2 separate regions of the Homo sapiens genome follow, and region 2 is linked to region 1. Evidence: promoter capture Hi-C in 16 types of primary human blood cells and fetal thymus (Javierre and others, 2016). All regions are on one chromosome and are shown on one strand. Each heading gives the region's core, a stretch centred on a gene start or on the middle of the fragment in contact. The rest is flanking DNA. Distances are from core to core; before and after follow the strand shown. Region 1 holds the start of SGMS1 (sphingomyelin synthase 1). Region 2 overlaps IPMK (inositol polyphosphate multikinase).

Evidence for each region. Contacts are between HindIII fragments. The CHiCAGO score rates a contact against its expected background, and 5 or more counts as called.
Region 2: a contact is called between a fragment that was not itself captured here and the fragment with the promoter of SGMS1 in region 1, in 1 of 17 cell types (naive CD8 T cells). The highest score is 5.3, in naive CD8 T cells.

Annotation. Positions count from the first base shown.
Region 1 is chr10:50,621,610-50,626,193 of GRCh38, reverse strand. SGMS1 (sphingomyelin synthase 1) reads left to right here and starts at 2,238. Exons shown (of 11, transcript NM_147156.4): 1 at 2,238-2,487. SGMS1-AS1 (SGMS1 antisense RNA 1) reads right to left here and starts at 1,243. Exons shown (of 4, transcript NR_126411.1): 1 at 1,003-1,243. RefSeq lists silencers at 1,071-1,700, 1,825-1,982, 2,031-2,290, 2,551-2,890 and enhancers at 1,841-2,369, 3,081-3,480, 4,031-4,190. The HindIII fragment of the contact is 12,791 bases long and covers 1-4,584 here.
Region 2 is chr10:58,263,086-58,267,669 of GRCh38, reverse strand. IPMK (inositol polyphosphate multikinase) reads left to right here. Exons shown (of 6, transcript NM_152230.5): 1 at 1-248. The coding sequence starts at 59. Among named protein-coding and RNA genes, the nearest start is that of IPMK, 2.5 kb to the left of the region's middle. RefSeq lists enhancers at 247-541, 496-605. The HindIII fragment of the contact is 1,554 bases long and covers 759-2,312 here.

The DNA.
Region 1 (4,584 bases), core at 989-3,488:
AGTATTAATATTTTGAAAAATTTAGTTATCTTTCATGTGGGGGTGGGGTGCATTTTAAAGTACATCAAAGACCAGATGCTTACTTGGACCTTTGTTTCAGGAAGTCCAGAGCTTACAGCATATTCTGGATAGCACTGGAGAGAAACCAACACGGGAGAGAAAGCAGCCAGCAGTTTTCTGGCACTCCCTTAGTTTGAAAAAATTTACATCACAAGAAAGCAAGCCTTCCTTTCACCTTTTAGGTGCAAACTGATAAACATAACCAGTAGGGCTACTATACTTCACAGAGCCTTGCTCCCAGTAGATACTCAAAACATGCAGTTGAACTGAATTTCAGTTGTTATTTTAAAGCCGTGCTTGAAAAGCGTATGTGACAAATGTACTTTCCTAATCTTCCTGAGAAGAGCAGTACTGTGTCTTACGGGCGAAAAAACCAGAGGAGCCAGGAGTGGAGGGTGCAATAAAACGCCTGCATTGGGGCAGATTGCCTCATTTTGAATCCCTGACTCCTCACTGTGCTTTGGGGAAAACTATGGAAATTTTCACTGCCTAGCTTATTAAAATGGACTGCTTAGCTGAAATATAGAGGCGTCCATGACAACTACCCGGAGGGCTTTGTTAATCATATTGCAGGACTCCACCCGCAGTTTCTGGTTCTGTAGGTCTAGGTGGGGCCGAAAACGTGCATTTCTAACAAATTCTAGGGTGATAGTGACGCGGCAGGTCCCGAGACAACAGGAAACCCAAGGGACTCGAGGCAGGCGCTCAATAAATATTCACTATGAACCTCAGCACCATCGAAGCGGCCCACCAGCAGGGGCCGCGGGGTATGCGCTGCAGGGAAGAGCACGGCCTCTGTCCAATGTCCCTGCCGGTACATCACTCCTCTGCAGGGACTAGGTTAGAACCGGGAGGCAGCCAGAGCAGCGCTCTCGCTGGATAACGGAAGAGGACTCCCTCGCCAACTTCCGCCTCTGGGGAAAAGCGGGGACCCTCCGCCACCTGAGTTCTGTTGTCTCGATTTCGCCGCAGTTTGCTTCTGGCCCGGGCGAGAACCTGTCCTCTGGGCAAGCCAGGGGTCGGTACAGGACTCCTATACCCCAAGGCGAGGCGGAGGCAGGTGCCGAGCGGTGGCCAGAGTCCGGCGCCCAAAGCCCGATGGGAGGGCGTGGCGGGGGAGGACGGTCCCGCCAGCTCCCAGGTCGGTTCCGAGCGCCCGCGGCCCGATGGCCGGGCGGAAGATGGCTGCCCGGAGCGCCGCGGACAGTCACGTGGTACGCCGGGCCCGTAGCCGCGCCCCTTCCCCCGCTCGCCAAGTCCCCGACCCCGCGGGAGGCACGGCCTCGGGCTGCCTGTAGGCCACCGAGGTGCGGCGCGGGCCGGCCAGGGACGGCGGGCATCGGGGCGGGAAGGCCAGCTCTCCCCGCTGTCCATCCTAACTTGGGCGCTGGGGCTTCGCTCGGGGAGCAGAGGAAAACCTTCCTTCAGGCGACTTGCACCACGTGGGGCTACTGGGCATGCGCGGGCTCCGACCCCGGCCTAGCCGCTCTCCGGGTTTTCGCCGCAGCTCGGAGGGGCGGCGGAAGGTGGGCCCCAGGCGGGGCGGGGCGGCTCTGACGCAGTCGGAGTTTTCACCTCGCGCGGTTAGAGCTCTTGCGCCTCCGTCGCGCTCCCAGGCGTCGCCAGAGGCTTTTTTTTTCTGTTGTGGGAGAAAGATGAGAGTCTATGGTTAGAGGTTTGAAAATGGGCCGAATAGTCAGGTCGGCCGTTTCCTAGGAATGATCCATTGGGCATTAATCCCAAGTGTCGCAGCCCTTGGGCTTGGTGGGAAAAAGAATCCAGTAGTAGTTCGCAAACTCGTGCCTGGCTTCCAGCAGGCTGAGTTTGCGTTCCCTGCTTTGTGACCAGCTCTAGCGGCTCCCGTCTCCGGCCCTGCCCCAAGGGATTTACCGTCCCAGATTGTAAAATCTGGCTCCCGCTAGGCCTTACTTAGTGGGCCCCTAAAAACGCTGGGGAAAGCGCCCGCCTCCTCAGTTTCCCATTACTTGAAAGTAAAATTCAAGGGGCCCAAACTGCGACTGTCCCTTGGTTCGGGGTCCCGCTCGGTCCCGGGAGGAGCCCCCCGCGGACCCCGCCCGGCCGGCCCGCCCCCCCGGCCGCAGTGAACACCCGGAGGAGCGGAGTCGCGTCGCGCGGGAAGCCGGGCCGGCTCGGGCAGCGGACTGGGCATGCTCGGCAGCCCGGGAGGCTCGCGGTGGCAAGTCGAAAGCGTTCGCACCAGCGGGGCAGCGGCTGCGGGCGGCAGGCGGCGGGCAGGTCGGGAGTGAGAAGGACCGGCCTGGGCTGACTGCTCTCCCCTCGCGCCTAGGGAGCCGGTCGGAGAGCGCGATTGGGGTGCGGAGCCCCGACGCTGCCCTGCCCCGGATTTCATTCCGCGGCGGGGGCTCCGCGAGCGGAATTCCGGCGGCTGCCGTGACTCCAGTGCAAGTGAGTCGTGGGGCAGGGACAGACAGCCGGCCTCACGGTTGCGGGGGCCGATCGGACACCTGTCTCGCGGGCCCGGCCTTATGCCGGGGAGCAGCGGGCGGGCTGCTCTGGGGCGAGGGGGCGTGAGCGCAGCCCGCGCGGTGCCGCGCGCGTACCTGGCGGGCAGTCCTCCAGAGCTGCTGCTCCCGTGGGTGGTCACAGCGGGGAGGTCCGGCGGCCGGGATCCGGGCTCGGAGGGGGCGGGCCGCCGGCGGGGCTCCCCGGCTAAGTTGGGGCGGGGAGGAAGGAGGAGGCGTCAGTGGGCACCTTTTCAGAGCTACTGCGTGCGGGCTGGAAGGCTGCCTGGTGTCGGATTGGGGCGATCGGGAGGCGGGGAGCCTTTGGGCAGTAGCCCGCCCGGGGTCCGGAGACCCCCACCCAGGGGCCGACTCCAATCACGGCTCCACCCCCACAGCCTAGGTGGCGGTGTGACAGTTGGTACCTTCGGTCCAGATCGCAGCCGGCCAGGCGCCCACTATTTCGGGATCCCCCCACCGTAGCCCCTCGATGCCCCCTGACGACAAAACAGGTGGGACCCCCCCTCCCCGAGGAGCGCTCCCCTTCTCTCCAGGCCGCGTAACAGCCCGCCAGGCTCGCGGGCGGCTCTGAGACCCCGCAGGGCTGCCCCCGCGGGGCGGGGACGTTTAGGGGCAAGGCCTGGAGGGGAATCGGCGCAGCCCAGAACTGGACAGTCTCTCCAGGACGCCGCTTTTCCGTGACAGAGGGGGTCTGCGCTATCCCCCAGCGACGTGTCAAGGGCAAAACAGCAGCAGCAGCGGCTGCCTCTCCCACCGTCTTAACCCGAACTCGGGCTTGTGGCGTCCTCCCGTGGGCCGGATAGAGTGCCCTAGTCCAGCTAACGGATTCAGCCTGGAGCGTTCTGGTGAATGCTGCTTTCCTCTTTGGTGCCGCGAAGTAGAAATCGGGATAAGGGTTGTCATGGCCGGAGGGAGCGAAGAGAATCCAGGCAGGTGCTTCTCAGATGTTTCTTTTCACCTTCAAACAGTACAGACTTCAGCGGTACACGCTTACGAAACCAAGTGAAGGCTGCTTTCTGAAAGGGAAGTTTATTTTCTATGTTCTGGGGCCTGTCGACTATTTTAGCTCCCTTGACATTTATCTTCCTGGACCTTTAAAGCTGTTTGGACAGGTTATTTTGCTTTTAGGTTTGGGGATGTTTCTAGTTGGCTCCCTGGATGTGGAAGTGGCGAATGTCTGATGTGCTGTGCTGTGAACTCCCCACGCTTCCTGGCACTGGGGGTTGAAACATTCAGGGGGGACTGAGTGGGCCGAAGGAGAGGAGTGGGACTGGTGACGTAGGAACGCGATGGGTGTTGCCTAGAGCTGCCCAGATGGAAAGGGGTTGGCGGCTGTTTTGGCCTGTGCAGAAGGGGAGAGGGCGGGGCGTTTCATTGGTCGGGGTGTGAAACGTCCACGGGCGAAGGCTGCGGGGGATGGGTGCCTGTCTGGTCAGTGCTCCAAGGGAAGCCCAGGGATGTTTGGTGATTCAGCAGGTGGCAGCCTTCCAGCTCTGAAGACATGCCGTGGCCAAGCAAAGAAGCAAGCAAGCAAGCAAGCAGCAGCCTGTGCCTGCTGTCGGAGGCGCCAGCTTTGGGGGAACCTCCAGGTGCTGCCTTCTGCCTGTGGCAGCTCACTTGTCTTATCTTGCTTCCTGTTTAGCTCTGGAGGCCCTGGTATTTCGAGTTTCCTTACTGCGCCTCTTAAAATATACAGCAATATATAGCATGTTTTTGAGTCTCTGCATCTCTGTGACCTGCTGGGTAGCAGTGGGGTGGCTGCTGCCGCCATGCAGTTTTAAGTAGTTACTCTGCAGAAAGTGACAGTGATATGTAAAAACAGTGAAGTGGCCTTTCCTTCCATTTCTGCTTCACAGAATAGAAATTTATGTTTTTAGTAAAATAATAAGATACATTTCTGCAACTCTTCAGTGATGATAGTGAGCTATTTGAAATTTCCGGAAACTTTTTAATAAAAGACATTAACTCCAGAGATGTATTAAATTGACATCAGAGGGACACGGTTATTAAACCAGTATCT
Region 2 (4,584 bases), core at 286-2,785, 7.6 Mb before region 1:
CTCCCTCGCCCTATTTTTTTTCCTACTCTCGCTGCCGTTACCGCTTCTGCTCTCCGTTATGGCAACAGAGCCACCATCCCCCCTCCGGGTCGAGGCGCCGGGCCCCCCAGAAATGCGGACCTCACCGGCGATCGAGTCCACCCCTGAGGGCACCCCGCAGCCGGCGGGCGGCAGACTCCGCTTCCTCAACGGCTGCGTGCCCCTCTCGCATCAGGTGGCCGGGCACATGTACGGGAAGGACAAAGTGGGTAAGTGGGGGTGGCATAGGTCTCGCCGCTCCCCTTCCGCCTGTGCGAGCCCCCTGTCAGCGGAGGCAGCCTAGCGCTCTCGGGCCTGCCTGGACGCCCCCCTGGTGTGCACGCCAAATCCCTGGCCTCTTCCGCTGTCCCCCGAAGCCTCGCCACTCGAGCAGAAGGGGCTCGGAAAGTGGGACAATTCCTAGGGTGTGGGTCGTCAGGCTTGCAGCACGGGTGGCAGGGAGAGGCGTGTCTGGTCTCACCCACCCCCCAGGGAGGTTGGGTGTTGATTGGAGACGGCGTTGTTAGTGAAAATAAGGAACTTCATTTTTACTGGACGGGGAAGTAAATTCTCCCTTGAGCACAAGGTCTGTTTATTATAGGCGAGTAGCTATTGCAAAAGAAAAGGAATGAAATGCAGATGATGCTAATCTAGTACTTCTCTGCTGGGTGCAGCTGCATAGCTGGAGGGGAAGAAAAACACTGGGCTTTTTTAGGGGGAGGTGAGAAGGGAAGAAAGCTTGTCCGTGATTTTTCCCTGTCCCTTGAGGAGGTTTTTCTGGTGTCTCCTTGATTTCTCTGGGAGGCGTGGTTCCAGTAGTGCAGAAACTCGGATTCCTGGTGGGAAATTCACACGCATATTGTACCAGAATGATACACAAAATGTTCAGCTATTCTTGTTCATTTTATAAGGCTGTATCATGGCCACTGTAATACATTTTCTGAGTTCACAAGTTTAAAGCCTATCTCAGTTTAGGAACTCTAATTCATCTAGTTTACCCGTAGTGGTTCCCTGGGCCATGATTACTGGGGTAATCTGATGGATGAGTATGTGAGTATTGTGGATCTTTGACCCGGAAGAGCCACTAGAGACAATTTAGTTTATGCCGGTAAAACGATTCGGGTTTAGGTTGCTAATACTGACATTTTTAGACGAGGTGACTAAGGCCAACCCTGGTTAAGAATGACGTGCCTGAAGTCACGTTACAATATGTTAAGAATTGTGAAACCAAGAGTTCTTCCTTTGAGTACTGTATTTTTTCACCATGTATTGTGTTTGCTGAAACAACTCAAGGCTTTTAGAAAATGGATAAGTATTAATTTGAGTATATGCTATTTCTCAAAGCGACATTTTCCACTACTTTTATTTTTACCTACTTTGTTTGTGTGCCTTTCTCCCCACTGAATTGTGAATTCCTAGATGTTAGAGAGAGAATCTGTATTCTCTCATAGCCTTGTGCACGGACTGGGAATCAGTAACACTCAGGAAATATTGAATAGTGAAAATTGACAGTTGTTTTAGTATACCGAGGTAAAGAAACAACGTCCTCAAGTTGCTCAGCATAGACATTTCCTCCTGTGTGCCAGTGTCTTGTAATGAGAATTTGAGAGTACTCATGGGGTTTCTGTTAATAGAGGAATGCCTATTGATTTATATTAATACATTGTGATTTTACTATTCCTAATAATATTCTAGATGCCTGAAAAAGTAAATGTTTCCCTAAAGGTCCCTAGAGATTGACTTATATGCAAAGGAGAATAGATTTTAAAAATCTCAACATAAAAACAATCTAAATAATTGTCACTTAAGAGTGTAACCACTGCTTATTACAGTATGTAATAGTGATCCCATTCAGAGTGATTGCAAATAGTGGCTGAAAAGTTAATTTGTCACCCAAATTGCCTAATTAATGGAAAAGTTTAGATTCTAGAGGTAGTAGTCCTTAATTTTATTATGGCATTCAGTGTAAAATAAACTTTTTTTGCAATTTCATAAGGGTCTTTTGAGTAGGGACAGTGTTTGTGTCACCATAGTAGAATGGCTTAAACATACTGTGCTAGCAACCTAATATTTGTTGAATTTAATTCTCAGATAGTTATACAATCCTGACTGTATTGTTAAGTAAAAGGATACTTGACTGATGATATATTCCCTATTTGTAAAATGGATAAGATGGTCACTAATTCAAAGTTCAACAGTTTTATTATGTTTCTCCACTGTCATAAGTCATGTACAGTTTACATCATTTAGATCATGCTTTGGTCTGTCAATTGAAATAATTCTCAGGATAAGCTTTGTTAAGGACGTTATGTTGGTATTTGTTTTGTTTTTAAATTTGTGTTACTATCAGTAAGTAACCAGAAATGTTCCATTTAGAATTATTTTACCTATTTCCAAAAAGGAGTTGTTGGCTTTGTTAGTTTAAAAATTAAACTCATGGAACTTGATAGAACAAAGGTGCTTGAACAGAAAAATAGATCTTGTTATATATGCTAAGTAACAAGCATATATTAGTAGTTCAGACATCCGTTATATTTTGTGTTCTTCACTGAAACCATATTTCATCAAAATACATTTAAATCTTAGTTCTAAGAATACAAAGTATTTTGTTTTTTAAACTGTAAAAATTGTATAGTACACGGATCTTTTAGGAAAAAAATTCAGTTTAAGTAGTGCCCTTCCCCCTACTCATTCTCCCAGGGGCAATCACTGGTAACTACTTCCTGTCTATCCTTTCAGGCCTTTGTTTCTGGGCACATACATAAACACATTAGCGCGGTTCTGTTTTTTTATACAAATAAATCTATCAGCAACTTTTCTCATTCTGTATTATATCATGTATTATACCTATATTTTTGCACTTACGGTATACTTTATTCTTTCTAAAAATTGTGTTCTACAATGTGGATGTATCACAATTTATTTAACTATTTCTGTAATCATAGATTTTTAGACTTTTCACCATTTGTTTGCTGTGATAAGTAATGTACTTATTAAACATTCTTGTATATAATAGCATACCTTGCACGTTGTGTACCTATCTCTGTAGGAAGTTTTCGCAAAAAAAAGATCAATATAAATTCCCAAAACTCACCAAAGTTAGCATAAAATTCTTTTAATATGTATCATTAAGTTCTTTAAAAAGTCCTTAAAGTTTTAAACAAATGATGGAAATCTGATATTTCTTGATCTGATGTAGGATGTAGAAATGGGGTAGTCTATAGGGAAAACAAGGATTTAAACTGATAATTGTTGTGGGGGAGAAAGACCTACAATTATCTTGGCTTAGTAGTCTCTTTTTATTAGATATCCTCTGAAACTAATTAACCTAAAATAATTTCAAGCCTACAGAAAAGTTGCAAGAACAATAGAAAAGTAACATTTTGCAAAATTTGTTTTATTATCTCTCAATGCAAATAATTTTTCTTAACTATTTGCAAGTAGGTTGCATACATTATGCCACTTTACATGTTAATACTAAAGTGTGTCTTCCTTAAGAACAAGGATATTCTCTTCTGTAGCCACAGCACATTGATCAACTATGGGAAATTTAACAGGGATATAATACTTTAATCTATAGTCCATAGTCTCACTTTGTCAACTGTTCCAATACTGTAATGTCTTTTATCACATTTGTTTTTCTCAGTACAGGATCTGGTCCAGAATCATTTATTGCAATTAGTTGTTATGTCTTTTAGTGTCCTTTCATTTGTAACATATCCTCAGCCTTTCCCTGTCCTTTATGACATTGTCATTTTGAAGAGTACAGGCCAGTTATTTTATGAAATGTTCTTTAATTTGGGTTTCTGATAGTTCCTTACGATGGGATTCAGATGATACTTTTCCAGCTGGAACATTGTGTAAGTGGAGGCCAACAATAGCTGCCCTTTGGTAGTGGATTATTTCTGGTTGTCTGATTCAAGTGTAGTCTGGCTTCTTCAGTATATCGTTTTGTTTGTTTGTTTTTTGAGACAGGCTCTTGCTGTGTCACCTAGGCTGGAGTGCAGTGGCGTGATGTAGTTCACTGCAGCCTCAAACTTCAGGGCTCAAGCAATCCTCCTGCCTCAGCCTCCTGAGTAGCCGGGAGTATAGGTGCACACCACTAGGCCAGGCTAATTTTTTTTTTTTTTAACGGAGTCTTGCTCTGTTGCCCAGGCTGGAGAACAGTGGCGCGGTCTTGACTCACTGCAACCTCCGCCTCCCAGGTTCAAGTGATTCTCGTGCCTCAGCCTCTTAAGTAGCTAGGATTACAGGAGTGCACCACCATGCCTGGCTAATTTTTGTATTTTTAGTAGAGACGGGGTTTTGCCATGTTGGCCAGGCTGGTCTTGAGCTCCTGGCCTCAGGTGATCCACCCACCTCTGCCTGCCAAAGTGCTGGGATTACAGGCATGAACCACTGCTGGGCCAGGCTAATTTTAAAATTTTTTGTAGAGATGGGATCTGGCTTTGTTGCCCAGGCTGGTCTTGAACTACTGGCTTCAAGTGATCCTTCTGCTTCAGCCTCCCAAAGTGCTAGGATTACAGGAATGAGTCACCATGCCTGGCTTCAGTATATAGTTAATGT